Linked DNA regions of Homo sapiens: region 1 is linked to region 2. Evidence: promoter capture Hi-C in 16 types of primary human blood cells and fetal thymus (Javierre and others, 2016). All regions are on one chromosome and are shown on one strand. The core of a region is centred on a gene start or on the middle of the fragment in contact, and the rest is flanking DNA. Distances in the headings are between cores, read along the strand shown. Region 1 has its middle 45 kb from the start of LINC00525. Region 2 holds the start of LINC00525 (long intergenic non-protein coding RNA 525).

Region 1 (7,173 bases), core at 3,484-5,983, 47 kb after region 2:
GGTGAATAACACTCCATTGTATGCATATACTACATTTTGCTTATCTATTCATCTGCTGGAGGACATTTGGGCTGTTTCTCCTTTGGCTACTGTGGATAATGCTGCCATGAACACAGGTATGCAAGTATCTGCTTGAGTCCCTGATTTCAATTCTTTTGCATGTATATCCAGCATGGACTCACAAGATCATATGGTAATTCTAGTTTTCATATTTTGAGAAGCTTCCATACTGTTTTCCACAGTGGACACACTATTTCATGTTCCCTGCCCCCCAACACAAGGGCTCCAATCTCTCACCACTTCTACGCCTTACTATTAGGACCTTTCGGTGATCACTATGACTGCTGGAATTCGCCATTATGGAGTACTTAACAGTGTACCCAGAACTTCCACATTCTCTCCAACTCCAAAGGTTGAGGGCGATGCTAAGCTCGTAGGAGCTTTGGAATACAATCATAGTAACACTTTCTCAGATTCAAGAAGCCGCATGTGTTCTCTAAACTTCATTCTGAATGGAGGTTGGTCAACAATGCTACATGAAGACAACATGTAATGCTTAATCACAGAGGAAGATGTGCAAATGTAAATGCTGTCATACTTGTCTATATAATAAACAGAAACCATACTCTCATCAGACACATTTCTTTGCTCAGCATATTACCTTCTCCTTCTCCCTCTGGGTTGGAAGTCACTGGCAGGATTTGAAGAGACGAATCCTGAAGAGATGTAAGGTATCTTGGTTAACTGGTGGGTTTTGGAAGCAGTGCAATCCAGCCCTGTGCCCCTAGGTGAGGCACCTTTTCCCTCAGAGATGGTTCGTCATGTGTAAATTGCGGCTGGTGACAGGATTTAATAGTCACAATAGTCGTCACTTACCAGGTGCTCCCTGGGTTTCAGGCACTTATTTTTAAAATTGAGAAAATTCACGTGTAATAAAATTTACCATTGTAAAGTGTACAATTCAGTGGCTTTTTAAAGCGTGTTTATAAACCATCATCATGATTTAATTCCAGAACATTTTCATCACCCTAGAAGAAACCCTGTACCCATTAGCAGTAATCCTGCACCCAATTCATCACCTACCCCCACCTCCTGGCAATGACAAATTAACCTACTTTCTGTCATTATGAATTTTCTTATTCTGGACACTTAATATAAATTGAATCATATTAAACATGGTCTTTTGGATCTGGCTTCATTCACCTAACATAAAGTTCTCAAGGTTTACCCACCTTGCAGCACGTGTCAATACTCCATTCCTCTTTACGGCTGAATAATATTTTATTGCACCTATATGCCACATTTTGTTGATCCAGTCATCTGCTGATGGACATGTGAGCTGTTTCCACCTTTTGGCTATTATGAATAATGCTACTAAAAACTCTCATATGCAAATTATTGTGTAAACATTTTGTTTGTTTGGTTTTTGTTTTTTGGTTTTTTGAGGCAGAGTCTTGCTCTGTCACCCAGGCTGGAGTGCAGTGGCGTGATCTCGGCTCACCACAAGCTCCACCTCCCGGGTTCACACCATTCTCCTGCCTCAGCCTCCTGAGTAGCTGGGACTACAGGCGCTCGCCACCACGCCCGGCTAATTTTTTTGTATTTTTAGTAGAGACGGGGTTTCACCTTGTTAGCCAGGATGGTCTCGATCTCCTGACCCCGTGATCCGCCCGCCTCAGCCTCCCAAAGTGCTGGGATTACAGGCATGAGCCACCACGCCCGGTCTGTGTGAACATGTTTTTAATTCACTTGGGTATATAACCTAGGGGCAGAGTTGTTAGGCTGTAGGGTAATTATATGCTTAACTTCCAGACTGTTTCCACAGTGGTTATACAATTTTACATTCCCACCAGCCTTGTAGGAGTGCTCCAATTTCTCTTCTTCCTCACTGACACTTATTGTTGTCTGTCATTCTGATTACAGCCATCCTGTGAATGTGAAATGGTATTTCATTGTGGTACTGATTTAATTCTCTTAAAGACTAGGGATGTTGAGTATCTTTTCGTGTGTTTAGTGGCCATTTGTGTATCTTATTTGGAGGCATGTCTATTCAGTTTGTATATTTTTAATTAGGTTATTCGTCCTTTTATTGTTGAGTTGTATGAGTTCTTTTTATATTCTGAATACTGAAATTATCTATTATTCTTTGGTTGTTTGTGCTTTTGGTGTCATATCTGAGAAACCACTGTTAAATCCAAGGTCAGGAAGATTCAGTCCTATGTTTTGTTGTAAGAGATTTATAGCTTTAGCTCTTACGTGTAGGTCATTGATCCATTTTTGAGTAGATTTTTGTATATGGTGTGAGGTTTGAGTCTAGCTTCACTGTTTTGCATGTGGATTTCAGTTGTCCTAGAGCCATTTGTTGAGAAAAAAAGAGTTGTCTTTGTGCTCTAATTTAAAATCAACTTCCCATAGATATACAGATTTATTTCTGGCCCAGACACTGTTCTAATTGCTTTTGCCTTGTAGAGTAATTGTGATGATTAAATAAAGGGAGAGAAAATATTTTGCCCACTTCAATACTTATCCCCTACACATATGACAAACTGTGAATAGTTGCAAGGATTTTTTTCACTTTTACAAAGCTTGATATTTGTTTTGTTTTGTTTTGTTTTTGTTTTTTAATATGGAGTCTCGCCCTGTCGCCCAGGCTGGAGTGCAATGGAGCAATCTCCTCTCACTGCAATCTCCGCCTCTTGGGTTCAAGCGATTCTCCTGCCTCAGCCTCCCGAGTAGCTGGGATTACAGGTGCACGCCACCATGCCTGGCTAATTTTTGGTATCTTTAGTAGAGACCGGGTCTCACCATGTTAACCAGGCTGGTCTCAAACTCCTGACATCATGATCCACCTGCCTCAGCCTCCCAAAGTGCTGGGATTACAGGCATGAGCCACTGCACCAAACCCCGATATTTCTTACTTTCTATTTTAATTCGGAATAATATTTGGCATTCTTCCAGGATGGATTTTAATGGCTTATGTATTAGGAATCATCAATAGACAATAAATTTATTTATTAAGTGCTATTAGGTCATTAGGTTAAAAAAATAAATAGGGCCAGGAGCGGTGGCTCACGTCTGTAATCCCAGCACTTTGGGAGGCCGAGGCAGGCAGATCATCTGAGGTCAGGAGTTCAAGACCAGCCTGGCCAACATGGCGAAACCCCGGCTCTACTAAAAATACAAAAATTAGCCGGACTTCGTGTCAGGTGCCTGTAATCCCAGTTACTTATGAGGCTGAGGCAGGAGAATCGTTTGAACTCGGGAGGCAGAGGTTGCAGTGAGCCCAGATCGCACCATTGCACTCCAGCAAGAGAGAAACTCCATCTCAAAAAAATAAATAAATAAAAATTTAAAAATATATAAATAAATAGACCTTTAACAAGTTAAATGTAAATAATTTAGTCCAACTAAATTATTAATGGATAAAGATCCCATCAAAAAAGAGACGCTTTACTTTTTCCACACAGAGTAATGATTGGAATTCTCTCCCCTTTTTCGGGTTAGACATCTGAGACATGAAAATTAAAGGACAGGCCTAGATCCAGCTGGAGAGCCGGGCACCAAGTCAGAGCCCTTTGCACCAAGTCCAGGGTCCTTGTGTTTCATGCATGCAAGCCCTGCCTTCTTGTTTACAGATGGGAAGCCCAGCGAGTCCTTCTTTAGCAGGGGTGACAATGTTGTACATTAATCTGTAACACCAGGGACATTAGGCCCCCATGTATGATTGTTAGGCAGAGACAAAATAGGTGGGGTCTCCCTAACAGAGCATGCTGAGGAAAGGACTTAGGCATGGGATGAGAGGAGGTGCCAATGGTTTCTTAGTTGAACATATGATCAAGCACTTTCCAGAAGTATATGTTGACATGTAACCTGCCCTGCCCCACGCAGGGCCTTCATGGGTCAAAATGGCTACCCGCGGGTCACAACCAATGACCTCTGGTTACTTCACAATTGTCATGTGCCTACTTGGGTTGGGGTGGGGGTGTCGCACTGTGGTGGTCCACAAAAAATGAATGGAAAAGATTAGGCCTTTCTGTAGCAAAGGAAGCTTACTTTAAGTAAAGACTGAGATTGCATCTGCTGTGATCATATTGGATGTTGGTCTGCATGGCTGGAAGGAAAGAAACCTGAAAGAGAAACTATGCAAATGACAACCATCCAAGACCACAGCATCTCCCCCACAGTCAATCCTTGTGTTCAAAGGACAGTTGTGTTTTCAGCACCCAATGGAACTTCCTCAAATTGCCGAGAAAGTTTTGATGGTTATTGCTGCTGTTTTATGAGGATTTATTCAATATTTCCTACATGTGATACTTACTAATTATATATTCAATATCTCCTACAAACCATACTTACGAATTATTTCTAATTCTTGCAAGAACTCTAGAGTTTAGGTATTATTTCTCATTTTACAGTTGAGAGAACTGAGACTCAGAGAAGGCGTGCCAGTGTCACTGAGATTTTAGGAGATAGGACAGAAACAGAACCTGTCTATCAAAGCACAGATGTTTTCACCCTCCGTACTGTGGGTGCTTACCTCATATTTTGACTAAAATGTTTTATTTGGTTTATTTAGCTTCTGAAATTTGTATTCCTCACACCTGTCTTTATGTGCCTGGGGGGGAAATCTTAAGCATTGGAACCAACATCCCAGTGATCAGAGAGCAGAAAGAATTCATGGCTTCCTCCCCAGTGGCCCAGGTAGGGCTGACCCGGAACTCTGCTCAGAGCATGGATGTCTCAGTTGCTCTGTGTGCAGCTGCCTTGTGTGGAGTGAGCTGATCAGGAGGAATTTCTTCAGGGGAATATAAAACTCTTTGCAATCAGGATTTTCAGGGCTAGCTTCAGGCTCCTGACTTCTGAGTAACTAGGTCAAGGCTATTTCAAAATTAGCAGAATGGTACTCATCTTCACTATTGGTATCTAACACTGACCTAGAAATAGCAAGTGATTCAGTACGATAAGAAGATGAAAGAAAAATACTGGAAGTGAGGGGGTAAACTATTAGTTTATTACTTCCAGATAAACTAATTAAAATTATTACAAACTAATTATTTAAAACTAATTTAAAATATCTACACAAAATCTTAAGAGATGCTGGGCGCAGTGGCTCACGCCTGTAATCCCCGCATTTTGGGAGGCCTAGGCAGGTGGATCACGAGGTCAGGAGATTGAGACCATCCTGGCTAACACAGTAAAACCCTGTCTCTACTAAAAATACAAAAAAATTAGCCAAGCGTGGTGGCGGGCGCTTGTAGTCTCAGCTACTCGGGAGGCTGAGGCAGGAGCACGGCGTGAAACCGGGAGGTAGAGCTTGCAATGACCTGAGATCATGTCACTACACTCCAGCCTGGGCAACAGAGCGAGACTCCATCTCAAAAAAAAAAAAAAAAATCAAGAGAATCAAGTAAAGCTTAATTGATGAAATAAGAGAATTCAGAGTGTGGTCGGTTATAATATAAATATTTAGAAATCAAAAGCTTTTTCAATATTAGCAAGAGAATATCATTTTTAATAAGTATTCTACTCACAACAGCAAAAAAAATCTGAAATATCTAGGATTAAATTTAAGATTTACAGAAGGCTATAAAGAGAATAACTTGATGAATAGAGTGATATCATAATTCAGGATTCAAAGCTCAGTACCACAAAAGAGGCCAGGTAGTAAATATTTTTCAGCTTTAGGAGCCACATGGCCTCTGTTCCAGCTGCTCGATTCTGCTGTGATTGTGTGAAAACAAAACATAAACGAGCCACCAAACGTGGCTGTGTTTTAATAAAACTTTATTCACTAAAACAGCCGGAAGGCCAGTTTGGCCTGTGGGACATAGTTTGCCAACCCCTACTACAGGTGATTGTCTTCTTCCTCAAGCATAAAATACTACAAGGAGAATTATGCTGCTTCTAAAGTGTTCCCTCTTTTGAAATATTTCCTTAGGATAGACTCTTAGAATTTTGATTCCTGGCCAGGCGCGGTGCCTCACGCCTGTAATCTCAGCACTTTGGGAGGCCGAGGAGGGCGGATCACAAGGTCAGGAGATCGAGATCATCCTGGCTAACACGGTGAAACTCTGTCTCTACTAAAAATACAAAAAAAAAAAATTAGCCAAGCGTGGTAGCGGGTGCCTGTAGTCCCAGCTACTCAGGAGGCTGAGGCAGGAGAATGACATGAACCCAGGAGGCGGAGCTTGCAGTGAGCTGAGATCCCGCCACTGCACTCCAGCTTGGGTGACAGAGCGAGACTCCGTCTCAAAAAAAAAAAAAAGAATTTTGATTCCTGGGCCAGGGAAAATAAAATATAGTTTGGGACAGATATTGCCACATGCATTCTAAAATGCCTCCTACAAATTGCAGTGTGAGCAACTCATGAGGATAACTACTTCACACTACCACCAGTATTAGATGAGTTATTTTAAGATTGTTAAATTAATCTTTTTAAGTGTTTCAAATAGAACTTCTGTGATCGCTGTTGACGGGGAAATTTTTTCTTTCTTTTTGGATTTTTTGGAATTATCAGGTTACCTACTTTGTACCCGTACCCCTTGAAGTTGAAGTGGAAGCGTTTTTAAAATAAAACGTCCCATGGGCTATTGACAATATACGATGTATCATCTACTTTGGGGCTCCTAAACCTCAAATATTTTAGTTCTTGTGCATTTAAAGATGACCTTTTTATGTTTACTTTAAGGAATTTCCTTTGAAGGTTTTAATTTAGCCAAGATAGTTTGCAGTCAAGCTGCTATGAAGTGTAGGGACATAATTGAAGTCAGGGTTTCCCAAGCAATGTCTCCTGGCAATTTTCAAGGCACTTTATAGATATTTTAGAATACAGCTCTTTCCAGCCCTTCTCACATTCTTTCCTTAGTCCTCCATTTGGAAGGTCCTGCTCCCAGGAGAGGTCAACTTGAAGCGCCGAGAAGCAGCAGAGAGCGCGGGGGGCTGAGTATGCGCGCAGTGCTTGTCGCCTAATGCGTTTATGGCTTTTATGCTTATGAAGACAACTGTGATGCCTCAAGCTCAATTTTCAATGTAATTACCTGCATGTGATATTGACGTGAATCCCTAGGTGATAGGTTACAGATATTCCTATTTCATTTCTGACTTGTTGGTGTCAAATGAATGGACCCGTGAACGGGACTGTCATGGGAAAAAGTGACTCAAAGATAGTATTTA
Region 2 (6,980 bases), core at 1,837-4,336:
CAGTGATGGTGGCGCTTCCCATTTTGTACCATCAATCTGTCTAAGATTCACAGAATTACCTCACATTTCCCTTTAAATATGAATCTTCGTTCTCACAGTTGGAGGCTTAATGTTTCCAAAGGTATAAATGTGGTTTTTTGTTTTTGTTTTTTTGAGACGGAGTCTCGCTCTGTCACCAGGCTAAAATGCAGTGGCGCGATCTCAACTGACTGACTCTGAACTCGGGGTTCAAGAGATTCTCCTGCCTCAGCCTCCCAAGTAGCTGGGACTACAGTCATGCGCCACCATGCCCAGCTAATTTTTTTATTTTTAGTAGAGACGGGGTTTCGCCATGTTGGCCAGGATGGTCTAGATCTCTTGACCTCATGATCCTCCTGCCTCAGCCTCCCAAAGTGCTGGGATTACAGGCGTGAGCCACCATGCCCGGACAAATATGTGTTTTTGTAGGTGGAAACTTCTCTCAAATTAAAACATCCTCTATACCAGAAACCTGGGGAAAAAACATCATTAGTTGGCCTGACAGGAAATCAGGCAGTTTTGTTTTTTTTAAACAAAAAAAAAAAACATTAAAGTCCTAATGTGGAGGCAGAGAAAAACCCATGCTGCTCACTGTCTGTGGCCTGATGCCTCCATCTCTTTCTGCGGGACCTTTGTCCCAGGTCTCCCTCTCCTGACCTAGATGAATGAATGAAATGAACTAATGTGTACACAGACTCTGTGTACATATGGCTTTGATTTGGGAGAAAAGATGAATCACTCTGAGCTGGTAATCTGATCTTTGCCCTTCTGCTAGTAAACAGTTGAAAGATAACTCAATACATTCTCCGTCTGCCTTTTAAAACCAGAATAGCAAATAAAGGCCCTAGAGGGGCCTGGTTTGGATGGGGGAAGCCATTTATCACCTTCAGGGAAAAGAGAATGTAAATAGGTCCACATTTATTCTCCGGTCCTCCCGTGGCCACGACAGCCTTAGAAATACTCACCTTGTTTCAGTTAGCAGGCCAAGGGTCAGCGGTCAACAGAGCTGCTCCAGCAAGCTCTGTGTGGTGCCTCAAACAGGCCACACAAAGAGATGCTGTTTAAAATCGGAATTCCTTTCACCCTGAGTAAGTTTCCAAAGCAAAGGGGTCACCCGGTGAGTGTTGGTGCAGTCCTCACTGTTTGTCCTGCCTCTTGCTACAGAGGACATCTGGCAAAAGCAGATCAGAAAATGAAAGAAGTCTGTCCCAGTTCTGCCCTCCCCAGGTGGTAGAATTTCTCATGCGATTGTTGCTTGGGGTGTGTCACTCTGTACTTGAGTAGGTGGAGGGTGAACAGACTGATCAGCTGGCTATGAGATGAGAGCAGGATGATGATCATTCACTGGGATGTGTCTGGCCAACTGGGAAGAGTCAGGTAGCTCAAGGCCTGGAGATTCTCATCAGGGAGAGCACAATGGGGCCAGGCCTATAGCTGAGGTCCAGGCACAGAGGCTGGGCTATGAGAACCAGTGTCCTCAGTGACTGCGACAATGACATGTCCTCTGTCACCACCTGCTACCGTGAGGCCCCAGCCCCGGCTGACCTGTAGACTCAGATCTGGGCCTGAGAGGGAGGCTTGACTTCAGCCCCTCTCATGAACAGAATCCACAGCACCAGGGCTGAGAGTGGTGGCAGGGCCCAGGAACAGTGATATCCAGTAGAATAAGTGTGACCCACCCCAGCCCCCCACAAACCAGAGGGAGTGCTGAGCACCTCCGCCCAGCCTCAGGCAGCTGACTTCACTAAAGGAGGCCAAAAGGAAAGAAAAATGTGACAAGTGTGTTTTGATGGCTGATGCGCAGGCTCCCAGAGAACCTTCAGAAATCAGGTGGGAGTTGGAAAGATTTTTGAATTGTCCTCCTGCAATAGCATGTTGAAGAAAAACTAGCTAAATATACTTTATGTGTAATTCCATGTCCATATGCATGATTTCTTAGGTGGCAACCAAAGGCAAGGAGTTCCTGTGCAAATGGTATTGCCAATATTAAGGTTCTCAATACAGTATATATTTTGTTGTATTCATTTGCTAGGGCTGCCAGAACAAAGTTCCACAAATTGGTTGCCTTAAACAACAAAAATGCATTGTCTCACAATTTCTGGAGGACAGAAGTCTAAGATCAAGGTGTTGGCAGTGTTGTTCCTTCTAAAGGCTGAAGGAGAATCTGTTGCAGGCCTCTCTCCTTGGCTTGAGGACAACCATCTTCTCTCTGTGTCTCTTCCCATCATCTTCCCTCCAGGCATGTCTGGGTCCAAATTTCCCCTTTTTATTATTTTTTATGTATTTATTAATTTTTTTTTTGAGATGGAGTTTCACTCTTGTTGCCCAGCCTGGAGTGCAATGGCGCAATCTCGGCTCACTGCAACCTCTGCCTCCCGGGTTCAAGCGATTCTGCTGCCTTAGCCTCCCAAGTAGCTGGGATTACAGGTGCCTGCCACCATGCCCAGCTATTTTTTTTTCTTGTATTTTTAGTAGAGATAGGGTTTCTCCATGTTGGCCAGACTGGTCTTGAACTCCTGACCTCAGGTGATCCACCCACCTCGGCCTCCCAAAGTGCTGGGATTACAGGCATGAGCCACCATGCCCAGCCAAATCTCCTCTTCTTTATAAGGACACCGGTCATATTGGATGAGTCATATTGGATTACATGCCCACTCTACTCTAGTATAACCTCATTTTAATTTGATCACATTTTCAAAAACCCTGTTTCCAAATGCAGTTGCATTCTGAGGTACTAGGGGTTAGGACTTGGACATAGACATTTTGGGGGACACAATTCAACCCTTATTTGCCAAATCACTTTTTAGAATGATTAAGGCAATTAATGATCTTCTTAAAGTGAAGAAACAACCCACAGAATGGGAGAAAATATTTGCAAACTACCCATCTGACAAGGAATTAATAACCAGAATATATAAGGAGCTCAAACAACTCAACAGGAAAACATCTAGTAATCCAATCAGAAATCAAAATCTAGTAATCCAAATAAAAAATCAGAAATGAATAGATATTTCTCAAAAGAAGACTTACAAATGGCAAACAGGCATATGAAAAGGTGGTCATCGTCACTGATCATCAGAGAAATGCAAATCAAAACTACAATGAGATATCTCACCCCAGTTAAAATGGCTTTTATCCAAAAGACAGGCAATAACAAATGCTGGTGAGGATGTGGAGAAAAGGGAACACTAGTATATTGTTAGTGGGAATGTAAATTAGTACAACCACTATGGAGAACAGTTGGGAGGTTCCTCAAAAAACTAAAAATAGAACTAGCATATGATCCAGCAATCCCAGTGCTGGGTCTATACCCAAAAGGAAGGAAATCAGTATATTGAAGAGATATCTGCACTCCCATGTTTGTTGCAGCACTGTTCACAATAGCTAAGACTTAGAAGCAAATTTACAGTCCATCAACAGATGAACAGATAAAGAAAATGTGGTACATATACACAATGGAGTACTATTCAGCCATAAAAAGAATGAGATCCTGTCATTTGCAACAACATGGATGGAACGAAACTGGAGGACATTATGTTAAGTGAAATAAGCCAGGCACAGAAAGACAAACATCACATGTTCTCACTTATTTGTGGGATCTAAAAATCGAAACCATTGAAATCATGGACATAGAGAATAGGAAGGATGATTACCAGAGGCTGAAAAGGATAGTAGAGGACTGGGGAGATAAGGTGGGAATGGTTCATGGGTACCAAAAAAAAAAATAGAAGAATGAATAATACCTACTATTTGATAGCACGACAGGGAGACTATAGTCAATAATAATTTAAGTGTACATTTTAAAATAATTAAAAGTATAATTGGATTGTTTATACCACAAAGAATAAATGCTTGAGGGTATGGATACCCCATTCTTCATGATGTGCCTATTTCACATTGCATGCCTGTATTAAAACATCCCACGTACCCCATAAATATATACCCCTACTGTGTACCCACAAAAATTAAAAATAAAAAATTTTTTAATCTTGTCAACAGTGTATTAGGACATTGTGTTGTTGCAATTTCCTTAGCATCAAGTTCCGTCTTTAAAAAAAAAAAAAAAAAGCTTACTGATAGGTTTTTAGAGCCTGGTAATTCATTCTTTTTTGTTTTTTGTTTTTGCTCCGTTGCCCAGCCTGGAGTGCAGTGGCACAATCTGGGCTCACTGCAACCTCCGCCCCCTGGGTTCAAGCAATTCTTCTGCCTCAGCCTCCCAAGTAGCTGGGATTTTAGGTGCCAGCCACCACACCCGGCTAATTTTTGTATTTTTAGTAGAGATGAGGTTTTGCCATGTTGGCCAGGCTGGTCTCAAACTCCTGACCTCAGGGGATCCACCCGCTTCAGCCTCCCAAAGTGCTGGGATTACAGGCATGAGCCACTGTGCCCGGTCGGTAATTCATTCTTAAGTAAACTGGCCATATATGAATTGGCCATTTGAGTTCTTTCACAAAATATAAGACTATTTCCCCCCTTACAGTAGCTATTGTTGAATAAGATGCCAAGAAGGACAGCCAGCAATAGAGAATCAGTGCACAGATGCACTGGCAGGATTACCGGGTACATCTCCACCTCACTAACACCTTCTAGAGGTCACCATGAGCGTGGTGGGAAGCAATTTAGAATCAGAAGCACAGGGGTTCAAATCCCAGCTCTGGGACTTTCTAAATGTGCTCTTTTTCCAACTTTTTGAAGCCTGTATTATCTTATACGAAAAATCTTATCCTCTTCACCCAACTTTTCAAGGATTAAAAAATCCTCACATGGCATATTGCTGCACCACACTCTGTGGTGCATTATGGATGTCCAGTAAGGTGCATGGACCCTAAAGCTGCTCTGAGGACCAGATTCTCCCCATGGAGTAAACAGGCCACAGGTTGTTAAGGGAACCAGATGCTCGTGAACAACAGACCATTCATATGGATTAGCGAGTTTCTGCAAGGAAGAAGAGGGCTTGATCATCTCATTATTTGTTTCATGTGTCAGAATTGAATCACAGTGGAGCATTCATTGACCTAAAATTAAATTACTTGTCATATTTTTTATTCAACCATTTCCTCCTTTCCTTGGTAAATATAATTTTTTCTCATTCTAATGAAGCTCCTTGGAAACATCAAATCACTGCTTTATTTTAATCAGAGTAATTAACCAGTGATGGATGAGGCACAGGTAGCACGTGGATTTGGTGGGGGAATCTTCAGTAAGCAAAGGGTGGTGCCAGGGTGGCTTTACATTGGTCCCTGGAAGAGTGGTGAAGTTGTGCCCACACCCCGAAATGTGTAAGATCAGCTGTGACCCCTGGTGGAGCAAGAAAGCAAGGCTGTGAAAAATATAAATTGTCTTATCATTTTCTTAGAAACAAAAGACAACTCTAACTCAATAATTACCTTCTGTGTATCTATTCTCTTAGAAGTCAAGGAAAACCCTATCTATAGAATTTATCTCATCATCAGTTTATCCTCATAAAATAGATTCTTTCAAATCAGCCCCACTTCCAATTTTGAAATGGATCTTACCCCTATTCAGATAAAGTCTGAGTTCATTGTGCACCTTCACCTTTCTGTATGTAGGTCTTGGTCACACCAATGGACGCGCCAGGCCCAGGCTGTGGGTGCTTCCTGGGCTCTCTGTCTGTCACTTCTCCTGAGCCCTAGAGGAACACTGCACCCAGCTGCAGCTTTTCATATACCCCTGCACCCCCAGGGCACGGCCCAGAGGGAAACTTGACTCTTTGGCTGCTTCAGTGTATCTGGCCTAAGACCAGAGCTCCTGCTTTGGCGATCAGTCATCTACACACCAAGGTCCCTGAGATCTTGCCATTTTTCTAGAGTACTCCCCAGAGAGCAGGACTCAGAGGCCCAACCTCAGGAGACACTTCTGTCTATGCCTGTCTCTCTCTGTTCTGTCTCTCTTTCTATTTCTGTGTCTGTCTTCCTCTGTCTGTCTCTGTCCCTCCTGTCTTTGTCTCTCTGTCTCTCTATCTCTGTCTCTGTCTCTCTGTCTCTGTCTCTCACACACTCCTCACATCTGTCACTTCCTTCCATAACCCATGGGGTACAGAGGAATATATTTTTCTTTTTCCCTCACAATCCTCCCCACAGGTAGTAAAGATTGTGTGTGTGTGTTTCTGTTTTTCTCATGCCTTCTTAATTACTTGACTGATTTGCTTTGGGAAATCAAAGCCAGCTGGGCTCAGGAGTTTTGTTGTTGATTGTTTACTGTTTTGCTTTGCCACTGTCATGTCCTTTCTCGGGTGCAGTAGAGATCTAGCTATTGCTGGAATGAAGAAAAGGGAAAGGGGAGAGGGAGAAGGGGAAAAATAGCAGGGAGCAAAAAGAATTTGACCAATTTCTGAGAAAAGTGTAAAAATACTGTCTTCCCACACCATGAAATGCCTGCATTCCAAAAGCAGCTTTGTGGGTGAGAGTGATGGTGATTCGGTCCCGTGGCCGGCAGGGCAGCCAGCGAAGGGCTGGGCCATCCTGCAGGAACAAGATGTTCTGATGCAGTGTGGGCGAGCGTGCCTGACTGTGGGGAGGAGCCGCCGCGCCTGCAAACAGGAGTGCCATGAGACACTTAGTGGAAAAAGCATTTCTGATGACAGTCTCCATTCCTGGGCACTTTCAGATGTTTTATAAAATTTTCCAATGTTTATTTCAACTGCCAAGTATATGATGTTTTCTTCATTTTACAGCAGAGGAAACTAAGGTATCAAAAGACTAAGTAACTTCCCCCAAAGTGTGCCCCTAACTCTTGAGTTTCCTATGACAGTGACTGGCCCAAGCATCCATCCAACATCTCAAGCCAGAGGCCCAGTTCATCCTGGACTTCCCGTCCTTGGCCACTTTCTCCCCTGACATCCAATCAGTGAAGCAACCCCTGTTGCCGGCCACCCACCATTTGCTTCACCTGCTTCAACCACCTTGTTTTCTGCCTGGGTTTTTACAGTGGCATATCCAGGT

What was found. Contacts are between HindIII fragments. The CHiCAGO score rates a contact against its expected background, and 5 or more counts as called.
Region 1: a contact is called between a fragment that was not itself captured here and the fragment with the promoter of LINC00525 in region 2, in 2 of 17 cell types (total B cells and naive B cells). The highest score is 6.5, in total B cells.

What each region holds. Positions count from the first base shown.
Region 1 is chr7:47,712,406-47,719,578 of GRCh38, reverse strand. No RefSeq gene overlaps it. Among named protein-coding and RNA genes, the nearest start is that of LINC00525, 45 kb to the left of the region's middle. RefSeq lists enhancers at 3,454-3,748, 4,301-4,380 and a silencer at 3,454-3,748. The HindIII fragment of the contact is 1,365 bases long and covers 4,051-5,415 here.
Region 2 is chr7:47,757,582-47,764,561 of GRCh38, reverse strand. It overlaps LINC00525 (long intergenic non-protein coding RNA 525), which reads right to left and starts at 3,086. Exons shown (of 3, transcript NR_038407.1): 1 at 3,049-3,086; 2 at 984-1,189. The HindIII fragment of the contact is 4,383 bases long and covers 1-4,089 here.